Linked DNA regions of Homo sapiens: region 1 is linked to region 2. Evidence: promoter capture Hi-C in 16 types of primary human blood cells and fetal thymus (Javierre and others, 2016). All regions are on one chromosome and are shown on one strand. Each heading gives the region's core, a stretch centred on a gene start or on the middle of the fragment in contact. The rest is flanking DNA. Distances are from core to core; before and after follow the strand shown. Region 1 holds the start of H3-4 (H3.4 histone, cluster member). Region 2 holds the start of LOC124904535 (a long non-coding RNA gene).

Region 1 (4,440 bases), core at 1,224-3,723, 150 kb after region 2:
ATCCCAAAGGAGTCTAGTATTGAAAGTCAGAGCTGACTTTCAAAACCAGAACATAGCTGTCCCTGAATATTCTAGGCTTTCTGGATAGCCCTCCAAGGATCTGGCACTCATAAGTTTAAATACATCCTGAGATTTAAAGGGTATGATGTTCAGTTGTGTGTGTACTAATAAATTGATGAAGCTTTTGAATTTTGAGTCAACAGGCTATAAATTGGGTTCAAAGAGACTTATAAAATCCACTGTTGCCTATTGATAGCACTTTATGCACATCCCTTGCTATGTATAAGAGCACCTTTTACTATCATTGCTTCTACACACAATACAGGCCCCCTTCACTCAAGCATAAGCACCTTGAAAGCAGAGTGGGCAGCAGCCACAGGAAATGGATTTTATTCCCTCCATGATCCCAGCATGGGGTAGTGCTTGGCCTCATTCAATTTAATAAAGCCTTTCACAAATAAATGATTCCAACCTGTACCAGAGGGAGACAATCCCTACATCCTTATCCTCACAGCCATCCTCAGGTTTTCCTGACATAAGTCTACTATTGGATCTGTGGCCTGCTGCCCTAGCTGTAGGATTTCTCAGCAAGTTGGTCTCTGTGTCTCTCATCCCCAGAGCACTGCCAGACTACTTTGTGGCGCTGGGAAGCCTGTTTCAAAGTGCTGGGCACATGGGCCACGCCTGTCTGCGACTGCTCAGTAAACTGACTTCCAGGGCAGAGTGCCCTCTTTGAACTTTGGGCTGGGGTTTCCCAGTATTGATTTCACTTAGGAATTAACAATGCACATGCCTAGCTGGGCTTCTCACACACAACTAGCTAGTCATCTACCCTAACAGAAGACAGGGTGAATTTACAACATACATGACTAGCCAGCCTTTTAACTGAATGGGAGATTGGGTATGTTAACACATACAATGAGATGGACTTCTAACCCGAGATGGGCCAACACCACAGCTACATATGTGTGCACATGGGTGCACGTGCACACACACACACCCCTAGCCAGCCTTCTAACCTAATGGGAGATAGCCCAAGTTAAAAAGATACACAACTAGCCAGCCTTCTAAATTAACAGGAGGTAGGCTGAGTTAAAACACACAAGTAGCTGGACTTTTTTTTGTTTTTTTTTTTGAGATTGAGTCTCGTTCTGTTGCCCACGCTGCAGTGCAGTGGCATGATCTTGGCTCACTGCAACCTCCGCCCCCTGGGTTCAAGCAGTTCTCCTGCCTCAGCCTCCCAAGTAGCTGGGATTACAGGTATGCGCCACCAAACCCGGCTAATTTTAGAGATGGGGTTTCACCATGTTGGCCAGGCTGGTCTGGAACTCCTGACCTCAGGTGATACACCCGCCTCGGCCTCCCAAAGTGCTGGGATTACAGGCGTAAGCTGCTATGCTGGTGAAGTAGCTGGACTTCTAACTTAAAATAGGCCAAGATAATACATACTACTTGCTGGCCTTAACAGGAGATGGGCTGTCAAGGCAGAAGACTAGCTGGACTGGTAACCTCACTGGAAACAAGCTGCGTGTACACACACACACACACACGCAGGACTTCTAACCTAATTTGAAAGAGGCTGAGCTGAGAACACACAAGACCAGCCAGCCTTCCAACCTAACTGTAGATAGGCTGAGTTGACACAACTAGCTGGGGTTGCTTACCTAACTGGAGATAGACCAATTAGGCTACCCTCAACACCCCGTCCCCAAAACAGACCAACCATGATTCTTATCTAAACGGATAGGCCAAGTTAGCCCCACACACTACTAGCTGGATTTGTGACTGGAGACAGGCTGAGAGGTAACGCGTGTGAGTAGCTGGCCTCCTAACTGGACAGGGTGAACACAGGATTCACCAGCCTCCCACCCTAATCAGAAGTAGGTAAGCCAGCACAGGCCAGCGGAAGGAACCCCCCGAAACCCAAGAGACTAGCTTGCTACAGCAACTCTTCGACCAGGTGGGTGGCTCTTAAAAGAGCCTTTGGGGTGAACGTTGCGCAACCTCTCAGGTGGCGAGATAGCCCTCCTAGGCCCGCTCCCCGCGGATACGGCGTGCCAGCTGGATGTCCTTAGGCATGATGGTGACCCGTTTGGCATGGATGACACACAGGTTGGTGTCCTCAAACAGCCCCACCAGGTAAGACTCGCACGCCTCCTGCAGCGCCATCACGGCCGAGCTCTGGAAGCGCAGGTCGGTCTTAAAGTCCTGAGCGATCTCGCGCATCAGCCGCTGGAAGGGCAACTTGCGGATTAGCAGCTCAGTGGACTTCTGGTAGCGGCGGATCTCGCGAAGCGCCACCGTGCCGGGCCGGTAGCGGTGCGGCTTCTTCACGCCGCCAGTGGCAGGTGCGCTCTTGCGAGCCACCTTGGTGGCCAGCTGCTTGCGCGGCGCCTTGCCACCCGTTGACTTGCGCGCAGTCTGCTTGGTTCGGGCCATGAATCCGAAACTGTTGGCCCCGCGGTGTCCTCTGCCCAGACCTCAGCGGATTGCTCGCTTTTATAGAGCTTGCCGCGTTCCCATTGGCTGGCCTCAGGTGGCGTGATGGCCCACTGCTCTCTGATTGGCCCACAGGGAACTCCACTCGGGCGCCTCTCCCTTATATTCATGCCTGTTGGTCGTGGCCACCAGAGCTGGCACCAGCATTGTGAAGGGTTGATGCGGGTAGGCCGCGGTGGTGGGGATCATCTCTCTCCAGCACAAGCTTCCTCATGTCTTCTCAGCGCTCCTCTTCTCCCTTCCCCATGACTTGGGTGGCAAGAGCCTTCCAGAAGCCAGCACATGGCATTCCACTTTTTTAAAAAATTAATTTATTTTTTTATTTTTTGAGATGGAGTTTCACTCTTGTTGCCCAGGCTGGAGTGCAATAGCGTGATCTCTGCTTACTGCAACCTCCACCTCCCAGGTTCAAGCGATTCTCCTGCCTCAGCCTCCCGAGTAACTGGAATTACAGGGATTACAGGTGTCCGCCACCATGCCTGGCTAATTTTTTGTGTTTTTAATAGAGATGGGGTTTCACCATATTGGCCAGGCTGGTCTCGAACTCCTGACCTCAGGTGATCCACCCGCCTCGGCCTCCCAAAGTGCTGGGATTACAGGCATGAGCCACCAGGCCCAGCTGGCATTTCACTTTTTTTTTTTTTTTTTTGAGACGGAGTCTCTCTCTGTCGCCCAGGCTGGAGTGCAGTGGCGCAATCCCAGCTCACTGCAAGCTCCGCCTCCCGGGTTCACGCCATTCTCCTGCCTCAGCCTACAGAGTAGCTGGGACTACAGGTGCCCGCCATCATGCCTGGCTAATTTTGTTTTGTATTTTTAGTAGAGACGGGGTTTCACCATGTTAGCCAGGATGGTCTCGATCTCCTGACCTCGTGATCCGCCCGCCTCGGCCTCCCAAAGTGTTGGGATTACAGGCGTGAGCCAGCGTGCCCGGCCGGCATTCCACTTTTACACAGTGACAAAGCTCTGGGATGCAGCCAGAGTTAAAGGAATCTCCCACTTTTTATGACCTGCAAAGAACTCCCTTACCTGTACGGCTTAGATGAGCCTTAGGATTCTGAAGAAGGTAAAGATGTGCCTTTCTGGCATATTGTCTATTTTGAGATAAAGGCACTTAAAAAAAAAAAAGAAGAAGCAGGTGTAGGAAGATCATTCTGAATTTCTTGTTGTTTCTTAAATACAAGAGATGAAATTCCCATATGAAAGATGTTCTCCTTATAGTAAAAGCAAGGGAACGTTCTTATCATCAAGGACGGGAGGTGGAAGCTTCCAAATCTCCTCCAACTCTCAAGTTGAAATTTGATCCCTAAAGTTGGAGCCCAGGGAGGGGGGGGCCAGTGGGAGGTGTGTGGGTCCTGGGGTGTCACCCTCTGAATAGAGTCCTGCCCTCCTTTAGGGTGAGTTTTCACTCTGTTGGTTCCCTGAAGAGCTGGTGTTGAAAAGAGCCTGGCACCCCTCTCCCCTCTCTCTCTGGCGTCCTCTCTCGCGGCAGCCCTGTGACCTCTGCACATACATGGGTTCCCCTTCACCTTCCACCATGAGCAGAAGCAGCCAGAGGCCCTCACCAGAAGCAGAGGTGGGCCCTATGCTTGCTTCCTTCCTTTCTCCCTCCCTCCCTTCCTTTCTCCTTCCCTCCCTTCCTCACTCCCTCCCTTCCTTTCTCCTTCCCTCCCTTCCTTTCTCCTTCCCTCCCTTCCTTTCTCCTTCCCTCCCTTCCTTTCTCCTTCCCTCCCTTCCTCACTCCCTCCCTCCCTTCCTTTTTTTCTTCTCCCTTCCCCTCCCCTCCTTTCCCTCCTTTTTTCATCTTGCTCTGTTGCCCAGGCCCCTCTTACCTCAGCCTCCCAAGTAGCTGGGACCACATCCAGCTAATTTTTAAATTTTTAATTTTTTTGTAGAGATGGGCTGTCATTATGTTGCCCAAGCTGGTCTTGAATTCCTGAGTTC
Region 2 (4,419 bases), core at 335-2,834:
GTGATTCTTGCGCTGGGAGGTGGCAGGACTTCTCCTGGCCACGCAGCCAGTGCAGAGCCTGGGGAAGGTTCTGTTTCTCCTACTTCCTCATCCAGGCCCTCCTATCCTAGGGTGGTCTTCCTGACCTAGGCTGTATCTTTGACCTCGTATGTCCTTCCTTGTCCATCCCCAGAGCCCAAGGCGGTGTTTGCCAAGGAGCAGGTGGTGTTTGCCAAGGATCAGCCGGTGCACAGGGAGGTGCAGGCTGAGGCAGGGACCAGCACCATGCTGAGCTGCGAGGTGGCCCAAGCCCAGACGGAGGTTATGTGGTACAAGGACGGGAAGAAGCTGAGCTCCAGCTCGAAAATGCGTGTGGAGGCCGTGGGCTGCACACGGAGGCTGGTGGTGCAGGAGGCAGGCCAGGCGGACGCCGGGGAGTACAGCTGCGAGGCTGGGGGCCAGCGGCTCTCCTTCCATCTGCATGTGGCTGGTGGGTGCCAGGGTTAGGCAAAATGGAGGTGATGCTGAGTGTCGGGTGTGAAACTACAAGGGCATGTTTGGGCGGCCCAAGGTGCTGTGGGCCCTGGCACCTTCCCTCTATGTAGGCCTCAGAATCTGTGTCCCCAGCTCTCCCCAGCAGCTCTCAGGCCAGTGTCCTTATGTCATGAGACTAGAGCAGGCCCATGGGCTGAGTTGACCATGGTGTGTGCCCTGCAGTGGCTGAGCCGGGGGTGGTAGGGACAGTAGCATGATGTCCTTGGGGTGTGGGTCTGGGGTCTGGGTCCGGTCTCATGTGAGGACCCCTGTCTGGGTGGTAGGGACAGTAGCGTGATGTCCTCGGGGGTCTGGGGTCCGGGTCTGGTCAGATGTGATGATTTCTGTCTGGGTGGTGGGGACAGTGGTGTGATGTCCTTGGGGTGGGGGTCTGGGTCTGGTCTAATGTGATCTGCTGACTCCTCTGTGGGTGCTGGGCCATGGGAGGGCCCGGCAGTGACTGGAGAGCGTGTACTGGGTGGTGGGGGCTTGTCTCTGTGCTCTGGGCCCTAGATCTCTGTAAGCCTGTGCTGGGCCCCTTGGTCATCACCATGTGTCCACCTGTCTTTCTGATATCCATCTCCCTTCCACCCTGTCCCTGAGCTGGGGACAACAGACCACACTCAGCTTGGCACCCTCTTTCCAATGGCCCTGCCAACACTCCGCTGCCTCTGGGCTGGCCCAGGTTGCTGGTCCATCTCTCCTGACCCTTCACGTCCTACTGCCTGTGGCCCTGCGTGGTGGGGAGGGCTGGCGACAGGTGAGGGCCCCAGGGCCCTGGAAGACCGAGGCAGGGAAGGGGCCGCATCCTGTTCCCAAGGGACATGATGATGGTGCTGCCAACATGCAGCCTTAGACCTTTGGCTCTGGTAGTGCCGGGGGGAGCTCTGTGCGTCACCGTGCACTGCTTAATGATGGACAGCCCTGCCTGGCTGTCACTGGGCTGACACATGGGCTGTGTCTGCTCTGGAGCCTCTGACCCTGCATCCCTCCTTGTCCATCCCAGAGCCCAAGGTGGTGTTTGCCAAGGAGCAGCCGGCATGCAGGGAGGTGCAGGCGGAGGCGGGGGCCAGTGCCACGCTGAGCTGTGAGGTGGCCCAGGGCCAGATGGAGGTGACATGGTACAAGGACGGGAAGAAGCTGAGCTCCAGCTCAAAAGTGCACATGGAGGCCAGCGGCTACACACGGAGGCTGGTAGTGCAGCAGGCGGGCCAGGCGGATGCTGGGGAGTACAGCTGTGAGGCGGGGGGCCAACGGCTGTCCTTCCGCCTGCACGTGGCAGGTCAGTGCTTTGGGTGAATCCACCTCGCCTGAAGCTGATGGCCACACTGTATGGTCCCTGGGATTCTGGATGGTAGTTGATGGTGCTCAGGACTGCACTGGGCCATCCTTGAAGAGCAATGGGTATCAGGGGTGCCAGGTAGCATTAGGGTGGCCCTGAAGGGAGCGGGGCCGGTCCAGGGATGACAGGGTCCCCCTCTCATGCCAACTCACCTCTACCCAGAGCTGGAGCCCCAAATTTCAGAGAGACCCTGCCGCAGGGAGCCTCTGGTGGTCAAGGAGCATGAAGACATCATCCTGACCGCCACACTGGCCACACCCTCTGCGGCCACGGTGACCTGGCTCAAGGATGGTGTGGAGATTCGCCGCAGCAAGCGGCATGAGACAGCCAGCCAGGGGGACACCCACACCCTGACCGTGCATGGCGCCCAGGTTCTGGACAGCGCCATCTACAGCTGCCGTGTGGGCGCAGAGGGGCAGGACTTCCCAGTGCAGGTGGAAGGTGAGCCGGGCATGGGGCGTGGGGCGGGGACTCCTCCAGACACCTCTGTCCCAGAGCTGGACAGGGGCGAAGCTGGGGCTCAAGTCTGGTCTGTTAAGAGCCCGGCTGATGTCCCCTTTGTGCCCACAGAGGTGGCCGCCAAGTTCTGCCGGCTGCTGGAGCCTGTGTGCGGCGAGCTGGGTGGCACGGTGACACTGGCCTGCGAGCTAAGCCCAGCGTGTGCAGAGGTGGTGTGGCGCTGCGGCAACACGCAGCTTCGGGTGGGCAAGCGCTTCCAGATGGTGGCCGAGGGGCCCGTGCGCTCACTCACTGTGTTGGGGCTGCGCGCAGAGGACGCAGGGGAGTACGTGTGTGAGAGCCGTGATGACCACACCAGTGCGCAGCTCACCGTCAGTGGTATGTAAGGGGTCGAGTGTCCCTATCCAGGGCAGCCTCCTGGAGGAGGCGGCCTTTGGTACTCCTGCAGCGTAAGGGCTCTGCCAGTCCTGTGCGCCCGCCTCTTAAGCAGTGCTCCTGTCTGCAGTGCCCCGAGTGGTGAAGTTTATGTCTGGGCTGAGCACCGTGGTCGCAGAGGAGGGCGGCGAGGCCACCTTCCAGTGCGTGGTGTCCCCCAGTGATGTGGCAGTCGTGTGGTTCCGGGACGGTGCCCTGCTTCAGCCCAGCGAGAAGTTTGCCATATCACAGAGTGGCGCCAGCCACAGCCTGACCATCTCAGACCTGGTGCTGGAGGACGCGGGCCAGATCACCGTGGAGGCTGAGGGCGCCTCATCCTCTGCTGCCCTGAGGGTCCGAGGTGAGTGTGGGGGGCAGCAGGATTTGCCTGGCTGGCCAGGGCTCCTTGCACAGGCACCTCCCCTGTGGGCTGGTTCTGAGTGGGCACCTGGAACTGCTGTCCTGTTACGGCTGGTCCGGCTGACCTCAGGAGACACGGGGTGTGTGGGCTGCAGAGAGGAGACTCCGGTAGGCTGGATGGGCCAGGTGCCTTCTCTTGGTATAGAGAAGATACAATCCTGCAGTTGCACCTGGTGGGGAATGGGGGGAGGCTGAGGCAATCCAGGGAGGCTTTCTGGAGTAGGTGGGTGCATACTTAGCCTGATGGATGGCAGGGAAGAGAGAGTGGGGTTAGCACCAGTGCAAGCAGTGACATGGGCTTCCCATGCTGCTGAAGCCAGAAGCCAGAACTTGCCCTGAAGGGAAGTGGGAGTCATGGCAGGTTCTAGAGTAAGGGAGTGATGCAGCAGATTCACCTTCTGCGGAGTTGACGGGTGGCCTGAGGCAGAGAGGCCCGCCAGCGCCTCTTCCTTAACCTGCGCAGGAGTCCTGGGCTTTGCTAAACCGCCGTTGCGCCTGGGGAAGCTCTGTCTTCCCCCCTCTGCAGTTCCTGCCAGTGCTACTAGTGGGGATCACGTCTAGGATTTCGAGGCACAAGGGCCTGGCGTCTTGTTCAGAGCAGGGGAGCTGGAGGTGGGAGCGGGGCTTAAGGAAGCTTCCTGGTTTCCTCGCTTAAAGTCGCACCCGGGAGGGTGCGCAGCTGCGGCCCGCGTGTGGCCAGGGCCGCGCTGTTTGGATTGGGATCCCGGGGCGCGGTGCCGGCAGCTCTGCCTGGGCCCGGCTCAGGGCAGGCGCCGGGGCTGTGCGGGCCCTCTGTACCTTGGCTTGTCCGTGGAGGAGGGCGAGGGCCGCCGTGACCTCCCCTCTCCTGCGACCCCAGAGGCGCCTGTGCTGTTCAAAAAGAAGCTGGAGCCGCAGACGGTGGAGGAGCGGAGCTCGGTGACCCTGGAGGTGGAGCTGACGCGGCCGTGGCCGGAGCTGAGGTGGACACGGAACGCGACGGCCCTGGCGCCGGGAAAGAACGTGGAGATCCACGCCGAGGGCGCCCGCCACCGCCTGGTTCTGCACAACGTAGGTTTTGCCGACCGTGGCTTCTTTGGCTGCGAGACGCCGGATGACAAGACACAGGCCAAACTCACCGTGGAGAGTGAGCCGCGGGCGGGAAGGGCGGGGCATCGAGGAGGAGTGAGGAGGGAGGCGGGGCATTGAGGATTAGTGAGGACGTAGGCGGGGTGCTGAGGGGAGGAGGGAGGAGGGGCACTGAGGAAGAGGGAGCGGAAAAGAGAGGAGGG

Evidence for each region. Contacts are between HindIII fragments. The CHiCAGO score rates a contact against its expected background, and 5 or more counts as called.
Region 1: the fragment with the promoter of H3-4 here is called in contact with a fragment that was not itself captured in region 2 in 1 of 17 cell types (erythroblasts); the score reaches 5.2 in erythroblasts.

What each region holds. Positions count from the first base shown.
Region 1 is chr1:228,422,887-228,427,326 of GRCh38, forward strand. H3-4 (H3.4 histone, cluster member) reads right to left here and starts at 2,474. Exons shown (of 1, transcript NM_003493.3): 1 at 1,959-2,474. The coding sequence starts at 2,439. The coding sequence ends at 2,029. The HindIII fragment of the contact is 2,523 bases long and covers 180-2,702 here.
Region 2 is chr1:228,271,753-228,276,171 of GRCh38, forward strand. It overlaps OBSCN (obscurin, cytoskeletal calmodulin and titin-interacting RhoGEF), which reads left to right. Exons shown (of 116, transcript NM_001386125.1): 20 at 173-469; 21 at 1,520-1,795; 22 at 2,018-2,296; 23 at 2,426-2,692; 24 at 2,820-3,089; 25 at 4,008-4,274. It overlaps LOC124904535 (a long non-coding RNA gene), which reads right to left and starts at 4,276. Exons shown (of 3, transcript XR_007066916.1): 1 at 3,947-4,276; 2 at 2,008-3,318. The HindIII fragment of the contact is 4,392 bases long and covers 1-3,780 here.